Linked DNA regions of Homo sapiens: region 2 is linked to region 1. Evidence: promoter capture Hi-C in 16 types of primary human blood cells and fetal thymus (Javierre and others, 2016). All regions are on one chromosome and are shown on one strand. The core of a region is centred on a gene start or on the middle of the fragment in contact, and the rest is flanking DNA. Distances in the headings are between cores, read along the strand shown.

The links. Contacts are between HindIII fragments. The CHiCAGO score rates a contact against its expected background, and 5 or more counts as called.
Region 2: a fragment that was not itself captured here is called in contact with the fragment with the promoter of PGRMC2 in region 1 in 2 of 17 cell types (monocytes and M1 macrophages); the score reaches 7.4 in monocytes.

The regions. Positions count from the first base shown.
Region 1 is chr4:128,284,085-128,289,893 of GRCh38, forward strand. It overlaps PGRMC2 (progesterone receptor membrane component 2), which reads right to left and starts at 3,729. Exons shown (of 3, transcript NM_006320.6): 1 at 3,289-3,729. The coding sequence starts at 3,706. RefSeq lists silencers at 3,369-3,428, 3,609-3,658, 3,669-3,848, 4,169-4,358, 4,730-5,024. The HindIII fragment of the contact is 4,970 bases long and covers 2,185-5,809 here.
Region 2 is chr4:129,338,464-129,344,272 of GRCh38, forward strand. No RefSeq gene overlaps it. Among named protein-coding and RNA genes, the nearest start is that of C4orf33, 250 kb to the left of the region's middle. The HindIII fragment of the contact is 590 bases long and covers 3,054-3,643 here.

The DNA.
Region 1 (5,809 bases), core at 2,479-4,978:
ACACGCGTGAGCCACCGTGCCTGGCCGAAAGGCATGTTTTTTTTGAGGCTTTAAATCCTTGGATTTATGGGAACCAGGGAAGAGTATAAAGAAAAACAACAGTAAGATTCTCTACAAGTTTATCACAGGATGCAGTTTACTAGAAATAGTATAGATAAGCTGTGTGGTAATATCCATCTGGATTTATTAGACATACATGTAATCCAAGCCAATTTACCTAAAATACCTAGACCTCAGACTCCCCACCTGTAGAGCAGGAATACTTACCAACTTCACTGAGGAATTATGGAGATAAAAAAATTAATGGATCTGATATTGTGGGTGCTTAACGAATCTGGTTTTCTTTCTCCTCCTGTATTCAGTTTTTTACATGACCAAACTTTCCTCACCTGCTGGCCAAGTGCCTGATCTGTTACTAAATTTAATATTGGCAAATACAGTTAATGCCAACTGTTTGCCAAAATGTGTATACTCCACCAAATTACACTGTCAATATTTAATTAAGAGCCTGAACTTTAAAAATGTATGACTAAAAATAAACACATGTTTAGCATTATGGAAAAATCTCACAAAATTTAATCCTAAAACCATTATTGTGAAATTAGGGTAGATATTGGCTAGGCATAGAAACTAACAATTACTGCTTCTGAATTATTCTGCTACAAAACTGCTTAATTTATGAGGATGAAAATAAAAATTAAAAGCAAAACTGAACTTGTATCTGTTTTATAGCCAGAAATTTGGCTTTAAGATTTTTTGAAAAGTACTACTTATTACATTTTCTATTAATATGCAATATCAACATATTCTAAGCCCATAAAATGATCTGGCTTTCTTTAAGGTTCCTTTCAATAATAAAATATTCAAATATCTGTTATGTTGTTGATCAACTGTAGAATACTAACTGTATATCACTCTTAGGCTGTTCAACAGAACCTAGGAACTGGCAGAAACTAATCTAAAACTGACTTCTCCATTGTAATCTCAAGAGCCTCCCTCAGTGCACATACCATAAAAAAGCAATCTACCACCTATGACTCTTAATTTTTAATTTTTTTTTATACCGAGTCTCTCTCTGTCGCCCAGGCTGGAGTGCAATGGCGCAATCTCGGCTCACTGCAACCCCCACCTCCCGGGTTCCAGCAACTCTCCCTGCCTCCGCCTCCCGAGTAGCTGGGATTACAGGCACCCGCCACCACGTCTAGCTGATTTTCTTGTATTTTTAGTAGAGACGAGGTTTTGTTATATTGGCCAGGCTGGTTTCGAACTCCTGACCTCTGGTGATCCACCCGCCTCGGCCTCCCAAAGCACTGGGATTACAGGCATGAACCACCACGCCTGGCTTTAATTTTTAATTTCTATCACAGAACAAACGTTTGCCACTGGAGGCTGCCAAACTGTTTCTATGACTGTCTCTCTTAGCTATTTTCAGATACTGCCAAGGCATAATGTGTGAGGACTAATACGATTCTTTGTACTAATACTTTGTTTTCTTCAGTGGCAGTTCAGACAGGGTACAAAAGCTGATCTTTTAGCTGGGTAAGGTCTATATTAAAAATTTAAACCTGTACAGGATTTCTAATCACTTAACACATTTTAATACCAATGGGGGAAAAGCTTGAACTAGGTATAAAATGCTGTCTAAATCCTTGATTTAAAAAAAATTTACTTCGCTTGGCCTGTTTAAATACTGTACTTTGGCCCTGTTCTCTTGTCCCACGTGTGCTTAAGTAAACAAAAATGTATTAACCATTTCAGTTGATATAAGTAGGCAGACACCTTGTGTTCACATTTATGTAACCAGAAGCAAAAACTCTGTAAGCTATGTATTTACTTGGTTGGATTAAATGTGTATATATACACAGAAGTACAAACAACTAAGAAATAAATTACATAATTCAACACCAAAAATCTCCTATTTCTTATCCCTATTCCAATGAACAAACTACAAACCAAAGCACTTCTAAAATATCTTCCAGCTATCAAGCACTGAAATCAGAAGTATATATTTTTAAGTGTCAATAAATCTTATACACCTACAGATTAAATTAAGGAGAAAACCAGCTTACTTCCAGACTGCCAACCCTATGACTTTAAGGCTTGGAGGTACTCTCTCCAATAACAGGTCACTTTAGGTCTCTAATTTAATTATTTATTCTTATTGTAGTCACCACTTTTTTTTAAAGCTTAGTATTAATCAGTGCACAACCAGGATGCACAATGTTGCTCAACTGTATGATATACCAACAGGTTCCATGAGTCTGGGGTTTATTAACATAATCCAAAATGTATGCTACAACCACACTGTAAAAAAAGGGCGTCTAAATCAACTACCCTACACAAAGTTCCCTGAAAACAAAGTTCTCTCAAAACAAAGTTCTAAAAATCTTTAACTTGCATAACTGGCACATGGGGGTATAAATCTACAACTCTTCTAAGTTTTTTCTCCTTAGTTCTGCTAAGTGAAAACACAAGTCATTATCAACGTGTACTTGAAAAGAGAAAAAAAAAGAAAAAAGAAACCAGAGACACGCCTGCTGGGTATAGGAGCTCCACCCCCAAAACTCAAGGTGAATATCCTTACCAGTCTTTAATAAGCTCTGCATTCTGGTCTGTTCTCATCCCACATACCTTGTTAATCATGGAAAGCAACTCCGAACTAAAACTGGTTTAAAGAGAGTCCGAGGTGTTGCTTATACGTCTGGACTTCAGAGACTGGAGGGTTGGGACTTTACATGCCCCTAAACGTGGCCTTACGGAGTAATACAGCGAGGGAAAAAAGGAGATCAGTGGCAAAAAAAAAAAAAAAGGGGGCAAGGAAAAGAAAACGGTGAATTACAGAGCCCAAAACTTTAGTTTAGGTCCCAACTTCAGAAATCTCCCTTCCCTGGTGCCCCATCCATCCCAGGAATCAGGAGACTCAAAAAAGGTTAAGGGCCAGCGTTGACCTGTGACAACTAAAACGATTTTGAAAAATCCAGCCAAAGAAACAAAAAAAAAAGGCTGCGAGGAGAAATGGGATGGAAGAAAGATGAATGCTGAGAGCTGGTCTCTGGGGCGCCACCGGGGACCCTGGTTTCGGGGGAAGAACTGGAGGTGCCCGTAGCTGCGGGGGGACGGTGTGTGTGTAGGGGCGGGATGGGCCGTCCCAGGTGCGGCGGCCGAGGCGCGGGGGTCCCGGAGACGAGAAGGCTGGGCAAACTAACCCGGTGCCCAGAGGCCTCCCTGTCCGAAGGGGGTTGTGCTTCAGCTGCAGGGGGTCCTTCCCCTCCCCTTCCAACTCCTCACCCGGGCCGTAGAACTTGCTGCCTTTGGTCACGTCGAAGACTTTCCCATTGACCGCGAGCAGGATGCGCGGGTTGCGGGAGCCGTCGTACTGGCGCAGCTGCTCCAAGCTGAAGTCCCGCTTCTTCATGCGAGGCAGAGAGGTGGCGGGGCTCTCCTCGCCCGCCCCGGCCCCGGCCCCCAGACCCCGCCGCCCCCAGCGCACCCACAGCCGGTAGGCCCCCAGCAGCACCAGAGCCACCAGCGCCACGTTCAGCAGCATTTCCCCGCCCCCCGTCAGAAGCGCCAACGCCGCCGCCGCCCAGCCTCCCCCTTCCGCTGCCGCTCCCGCGTCGCCTGGACTCTCGCTGCCGCCGTCGTTGCTGCTCTCGCTGCCACTCCCCAGGGTGCCTAGCTTCACGTCCCCATCACCAGCCGCCATCACTGCCCGCCAGCGCCTTCCTCCTCCTCCCCGCCCCCTGCCCTCCCCAACCCCACGGCCGGCCCCGCCCATCTGGGGGCCTCTCAGCCAATAACGTGAGAAGAGGGGGCGGGGTCAGGCCGGCTCCTGATTGGGTGTTGACGGGGTAACGTTGTCTCGGATCTCCCGCCCCCTCCCTTCTTTCGCTGGCCGCGCACGCGTGCAACGCCCCGCCCACCTCGCCCCACACTTCCCTGCTCTCACTCCAAGCCTCCGCTAGGTTAAGTAGACGAGCCGGGCGGGTCTGAAGAAAAGATGCTACGACGGCCGCGCGGACGCTCATGGGCGGGGCGAGACCACAGCGCGTGCGCGGGCTCCTGAGCGCCACGCGCTCGCCTTTCGTTCGTAACCCCTGCGGGAGGCACGCCCCGCCCAGTCTCCAGGCTCTGCGCGTGCGCCCTGGAATCGCTTCCCTTCCTAGGCCTGCGTTCGCGTCCGCAAACTCCCGCCTCCTTGCGCTCCCCCCGCCCGGGAGCTTCACGTGCGCCTTGGCGGCCGCGGGGGCAGGTCCGGGCTGGACGCCTGGCGGAGGACGCGGGCAGGTGGCTTGTGGGAGGCTGGGGCATAGTTGAGCTGCAAGGCGCAAACCGATGAGGGGCGTCTGCTTTTCACCAGGGCGCCGTCGCTTTTGTCGGGAAACCGGCAGCGTAGGCGCGCAGACCGGGAAGCGGCAAGAAGATTTGGCCACGAGCTGGGGTCTTCCTGGAACGGAGAGAAAGCACGGAACCCGCACCGGGCTTCTCTGGCATCGGCAGTCTACGTGCTCCTCGCGCTGGCACCGAGCAGCCACTCCCCGCTGGGTTTGGCAAAGGCTGCTCTTGTAGAATTTTAAAGGATTTAGAGTCTCATTATTCCTTGAATCATAACTTCTGCGGCCGTAGGGAAGTGGACAGGTTGAGGTGGTCTTTCTATTCGTCATTCACTCTTATTTGCAGGTTCTGTTTCATGTACTTGGACGTCTTTTAGCCTCTCACACCTTGAAATTCTAGTGTGAAAAAGTGACCTCTGAAGTCTCACGCACTCAACTCGTTTGACGAACTCGTTTGACGTGTTCTCTCTTGCCCTTTGTTGTCTGTTGTCTTGAGTCTCATAGAATAGGTTTGAACCTTTCACTGTCGGTTTTGTAGGAGTCACTGAGGATATTGACGAGGCAAGTGACAGGGTCGACACTCTTGTAGAGAGGCTGTATAGCAACCAGGTGTCTGAAGGATTAGAGGCTGGGGAAAGAGTGGGAAAGCAGTTAGTAGGCTAGGGTATTTGTGCGTGAGGTGAGGAGACTCAGAGCTAGGGGAGACATTAGAGCAGGGGTTGGCAAACATTTTTTGTAAAGGGCCCGATCATATTTTAAGTCTCTGCCTTAACTACTCAGCTCTACCTTGTAACGAGAAAGCAGCCATAGACAATACTTGAATGAGTGTAGCTGTCTTCAGTAAAACTATGGACATTGAATTTTTAATATAATTTCAGGTATGAAATATTCTTTTGATTTTTAAGAAAATCATTGAAATATGTAAATTTTTTTTTTTTTAGTTCTGGAGAGGTGCAAAAACAACTTATAAGCCATATTGCTGAGCCCTGCATTAGAGGTACCTGAGGGAGAGCGACACAATTGGTAGTAAATGACCATATACTCTATCCTTCAATATGGAACACTTTTGGAAGTAAAGTAGGGCATTAATAATTATAGCCAGAGACCAGGAGTTATATCAGTTTTATCCCAGGCAAACCTAAAGGAATAGTCACCTTAAGGTTAAGGGTTAGGAGAAGTCAAAATTGCTTTAGGACTTGGTAACAGAAAATGGGAGGTGCCAGTGATGGAAATAGGAAGATAAAGAAGAAACTGGTTTTGAGGAGAAGATAGCTGTAGCAGTCCCAAGAGCTGTATACAGTTGAGACAACATTGATAGGAAGGAAGAAAGCACCCCAGAAGCAGGCCACTCCTTATATCTTATTGACCAGAACTGGGCTATTAGCTGTCCCTAAAGCAGTAACAGACAAGGAGCATGGGACATCCATGATTGCCTAGTGTTTATCTGGCTTTTTTAATTCTTATTCAGGACTGTG
Region 2 (5,809 bases), core at 2,099-4,598, 1.1 Mb after region 1:
GCTATGGTGGAGGCGAGCTGCAATTTTAAGTGGGTGATTAGAGAGGGCTACACTGAGCAGGCAGCACCTGAGCAAAGATCTGAAGAAGGCAAGCCATAGAACTATTGGAGAGAAGAGAAGAACTATTGGGTGAAGGCTCTGAGGGAAGAGAGTGCCTGGCACACAGAAGAGACCAGTGCAGCTGGTGTGTGATATGTGAGTGTGAGGTCAGTGGGGAGAAGTGAGCTGACTATGGGGCGAGGTGGTGGAGGGCTTCCTGTAGGACATCAGCTTCTACTGTGACTCAGATGGAAAGCAACTGGAAGAAAGGAGGTGCATTTCCTGAGATAGGGGAGACTGCAGGAGAAGCAGATTTGGGGTAGAGTATGGTGACTAGGAGCCTGGATTTGGCCATGTTGTTTGAGGTACCTGTTAGACCTCTAAGTAGAGGTGCCAAATAGGCAGTTAGATAAACAAATCTGGAGTTCAGGAAGAGACCTGGGTTAGAGACGCAAATGGGAGTCATTGGTGAAAATGGTGTTTACAGTCGTGAGGCTGGATAATATTCACAAGGCAGCATGAAAGTCCATTGGGAGTTGGTATTGATGAGTTTAAGTGAGACCAATAGCGTGTCTGGGTGTTTTCCTCCAGCCCTGTTCTCCTGCTGGTATATGTGCCTAGGGTACAGATTTGGATATAATCAGGGTTGTGTTTTTCCAAAACAGTACGACAAAGCAAAAGGGGGAAAGTGAGTAGAGGGTGTGCAAGGAAGTGATTACAATAAGGAATCATGGAGTTTACCTGGTATGGAGGGTAATGAGCACATAAACGGATGGGTTCACAAAAAAGTGGTAGGATCAGTGGATTATATGTCCTGAGGAGCTTCAGGGTTCTTCAATCAAAACCATAGAAGAGTTGGAGTTCATTGCAATGATAGAGTTTATGGCTATTGTCTGATGGTGGGCTATACCCATTTTAACTGCTGTAAAGTCAGTTTAATAGATCAAGGTCAGCATCATTAAATGATATAGGAAGGAATGAAAAATATGAGAATATATTATAAGTTAAAAAGACAAGCATTGCTTTTTGAAATGTTTGTTTCAATTATATATATTTATATAAATTATGTTCATGTAGAGGTCTATTTGCATTGGGTCATAGTGTAAAGTATATTTCTTAATTTAGAACAAGGTCAAAAAGTTTGTAAAACACTGTAGGGTTGGTTCATGACAATGCATAGCTGAGGATAAGGTTATTGGAAGTGTCTGTGTATTCCGAACAATCTAGCAAAGAACCAGCCAGTTCCTGAGCCAACATCCTGTGTGGAGTGAAATTGATACCCCAGCATCTCCAAACCAAACAATCATACACTTATAAAAGACTGTGTTGCTAGACTTGCATGTTTCCTTCAAAACTAGACTAAATACCTTTAAAGCTATTCTCTCTCTATCCTTTGAAAATTAATAAAAGCTATAATTGTTTATTTTTCCTTTTATATCCAGTGGAGAAATATGTATTTGGTCTTACCAGATTTCCTTCAGGCCGAACCAAAACTTTCCCAATTGCACTTTTATTTTCATGGACAAGGTAACATTATTTAGAAAATATATGATTTTTCTTAGGTTAAAAATAAAGTACTCCTAGACACCTCAATTTCATGGCAAAACTTTTTTTTAAACTTTTATTTTAAGTGCAGGGATACAAGTACAGGTTTGTTACCTAGGTCAACTTGCATCATGGGGGTTTGTTGTACAGATTATTTCATCATCCAGGTATTAAGCCTAGTTCCCATTAGTTGTTTTTCTCAATCTTCTCCCTCCTCCCACCTTCCACTCTCTGAAAGGCCCCAATGTGTGTTGCTCCCCTCTGTGTGTCCATGTGTCCATGTGTTCTCATCATCCAGCTCCCATTTATAAGTGAGAACATGTGGTATCTGGTTTTCTATTCTTGTCTTAGTTTGATAAGGATAATGGCCTCTAGCCCTCCATTCATGTCCCTGCAAAGAACATGATCTCATTCTTTTTTACGGCTGCATAATATTTCATGGCAAAACTTAAGGTGTATTAAAAACAATACAACTTCTCTGAATAGGTAAATCTTACTTAAACAGATTATGTTCTAAAAATTCATTTTATGAAAAGTATTTGGAATTTAAAACCATGTCCTCATTAAGAGTGTTATAATTTGATGGTGGGCTTGTCATGAAAGTCTTTGGAATCCAGTGTACCTGAAATATGAATAAAATACATTGCCTGGATCCATAACCCTCATAATTACTTCTGAGCCCCATAGACCCCTGGGAAGTGGAAGTGGTTGTTACTAGGGTTGATTTGGGGACATGGCGAGGCTAGTAGGTGGGCAGGTTTATTAGTTTCCTAGGGCTGCCATACCAAATAGCACAAACTGTGAGGGCTTAACACAACAGAAATGTATTTTCTCATGGTTCTGGAAACTAGATGTTCAAAATCAAAGTGTCAGCAGGGCCATGTGGGCTCCCTCTGAGGTTCTGGGTAGAATCCTACCTTGCCTCTTCCTGCCTTCTGGTGGTGGCCATCAATCCTTGGCATTCCTTGGCTGGCAGCTTCATCACTCACCTTCTACCTCTGTCATCACTTGACCTTTTCCCCCATGTGCTGCATCTTAGAAGGATGTTAGCCATACTGGGTTAAGGACCTCTCTTACTACAGTATCATCTAATCTTAACAAATTATATCTGCAATGACCCTATTTCCAAATATGGTGACATTCTCAAATACTGAGGGTTAGGACTTCGACATATCTTTTTGGGAAACACAATTCAACCCATAACAGTGAGCAACTGGGAAGCTGCAGAAGGGCAGAAATCTATAGAGTTCTGGGTTCTCCAATGGCTGCTGTGTTACTGGCAAGAGCTTAGAGACCCCCCGTTGTTTGGATGTGGGGATAAGGATTACTCATAAGTCAACTAATTCATGAATGCTTCTATTTTACAGGTCACAGTTACTTTGAGTGGAAATAAACAAATAAGAAAATTCTATATTTAAAGAAAATTGCCTTCACAATCAACAACATTTTTATTTGAACCATGTCCTAAAAGCTTTCATTCCTCCTCTGAGATTCTAACAATATCTCCATCAGTGTGAACTACAATATTAGGAAAAGAAGAGGATAACTTCAGGGGAGAATTAGGCAGAAAGCAAGGTGTGTTATGTAACACCTGGGAGGCTAAAGAAAGAGGCTATTGACTGTGAGCCAAATTCAACTCTCAGCACATTGCTCCTAGGCAATGGACAGGAGTGTATGAGTGGCTGAGAGCAGGGCTGAGCTTCGAAGCAAATTACTTTTTCTACAAATGCTCTTTTATTTCTAAGCTCACTTCAGTGCAGATGTGTCTCCTTCATAAGTGAATCTTAAGGATCAATTTATAATCTTGGATCCACACTGTGGATATTGTGCTAGTCTTTGTCAACAGTAAATTTTAAGACAAGAAAGTTCAGAGAAATAGGGGATTAATATTAAGGCGGCTTTTATTCTTCATTAGTTTCTTACAGAAATATTATTTCATGTAAAAGGAATCTTGGTGTCCTAGTTTATCTTTTTCTCATCGTTTAACAGGTATAATATTAAATAGAATTAAAATCAGGAGTAGTATCACATGCTTATATCACCTTGTTATATTTTAGCAAGCTTTTGAAAAAGTCGAGCATGCACAGAGAAAAACTTAAAAGAGTAATAAAGGTATGTGCTGAACAGTCAATCTCCTTCTCACCCAAACATCACATATTCTTGTTTTATCCTTGTAAGAAATATGAAAAGTTATTCCTTTTAATGTTGCTTTCATTTTGAAGTTGTCACTCCTGCTTCCTAGCTGGTAGGACTGGTGTGGCAAATTGCTTTTCCAGAAGAAGAAAATGGTTTACTGATCTTTTTGGTCATCAAGATCAGGAGTTTAAAAGATGGTGGTCAGGGTGAGGAGTGGAATCCATGCAACCAGGAGAAAACCACGAACTGTGACTTTCTCACCTGGGTCATCTGCATGTTGTACCCAGAAGTCGGGAGAAACGACATTCAGGAAGATATGCACACATTAAAATTGGAATGGGAGAATTCTCCAGAATATGAAATTTCTCTTCTCATTGGAAGAAAAGGAAGAATGGGCCTGAAAACTGTCCTTGTTTGGATGGAAACTTAAACAGCCTGTGTTGCAAATAGTCCTCATTAAAATGCCCCCTGTGTGCTTTAGTTCTCCTGAAAAAACTACCAACACCAAGGTAGGGTCAAACCGGCTCAATAAATTTTAAATGATATTAATTATTCCCATGCAACTCCATAACTCAGTTTCTGGCTTAAAACCGTGAAACTTGCTAAGGTCTTTTTTGCTCCTGCAGCGTGGACCCTAGTGAAAAGGCATTATAAAAGGTTATTGCAGTCAGGTCTGTGAAAGACCTGTCGATTGAGAGGGAAGAAAATGCAAGTAGACATTATAAAAGATTACTTTCTGTGCTGCTAATGATCACTTTTGGTTTCAGTTTTCCTGAATGTTCAGGAAAGAAAGAGCTCACAGGAAAGGAATTTATTGCAAAAGAATAATTGCCCAATACATTACATGGCACGGTAGGGTTATAATGAGCATGAGGAAGGGCAATATCTAACCAACCCTTGGAGTTACAGTAATAGTTTGATTCAACTTCCTTATACAGACTGCTGAGCAACCAGAGAGCCAGAGAGGTTTTTTCTTTTCTTTTTTTTTCTCCCCGAAGAATTGGACTGCAACTGTTTTGAAACTTTCTTGGGGGAAATGCAATTATTGACAAGATTTAATAAAGCCAAGACAACTGAATGTGATGAGATGAACCCCTATTCTTTTGTTCTTTCTATGCAATGTAAGAAAATAGCAAGAAAACGATTACATTATAACTAAATGAATTAAACAAAGCTCCGAAACATAAATTAGAATTTAACTATGCCATTAAAAACTAATTTAATTTGCAAGGCATCATTACTAGGTAATAAAGACCCATTGCAAAATGTACAGCAATATCTTGTGAACATGTAAAAAAAAAGTGATAAATCTCATTGAGCAGATGAGTTTCTGTTGCATTAGCAGATACAAATGCTGAATAGATGTTTCAGTATATAATGAAAGCTAGCAAGTAATGGAACGATTGGTTTCGTTAATTTTTTTTTTTTTGCCGTAAATGGTTTTGTAGTTAAGGAAAGGCCTCAGGGAGAGTTGGAGAAGCACAAATTTGGTGCATGGACTTGGTGCCATAAAATCTGCTCTCAAACCAAGACAAAGAGAAGACATTTAAATATTTCGTTTGACAACATATGAAATATATTGTAGCCTACTTCATTCAAGTGCAAACAATATCTTGTTTCAGCTAATTGAAAATCTGATGGAAAATACAGTCTTTTCCCTAAAGTGTATCTTATTCAATTGTGTTGGAAATAACAAGGTATATATAACAAATTCAAGAGATGTGAATAAAGAATTTCTTCAGTTCTGGGGTTACCAGTTTAAAACTTACTAAAAAAAAAAAGCATTAAGTTTTTTATCCGATCAGAATAAGATGAAATAAAGTTTCAGAAAATTCATTTCATCGGAAATGAGTTTTAAATGTATACTTTCTAATAAAACAGCTAACGATAAGCATTTCCGCTTCTGTCTGTACTATTTTGCCTGAGCCTGCAGGTAGAATCCAGTATCATTTTACTGACAGCCATCATCGAGTACTGCCAGGAGATGGCAGTAAAACTCCGCTTTTCTAATCCAGCCTACGCTAGCGTCTAAAATTATTGTAACTTTTTTTTTAATGGGATCACAGCATTAATATAAGGTGGAGATGAA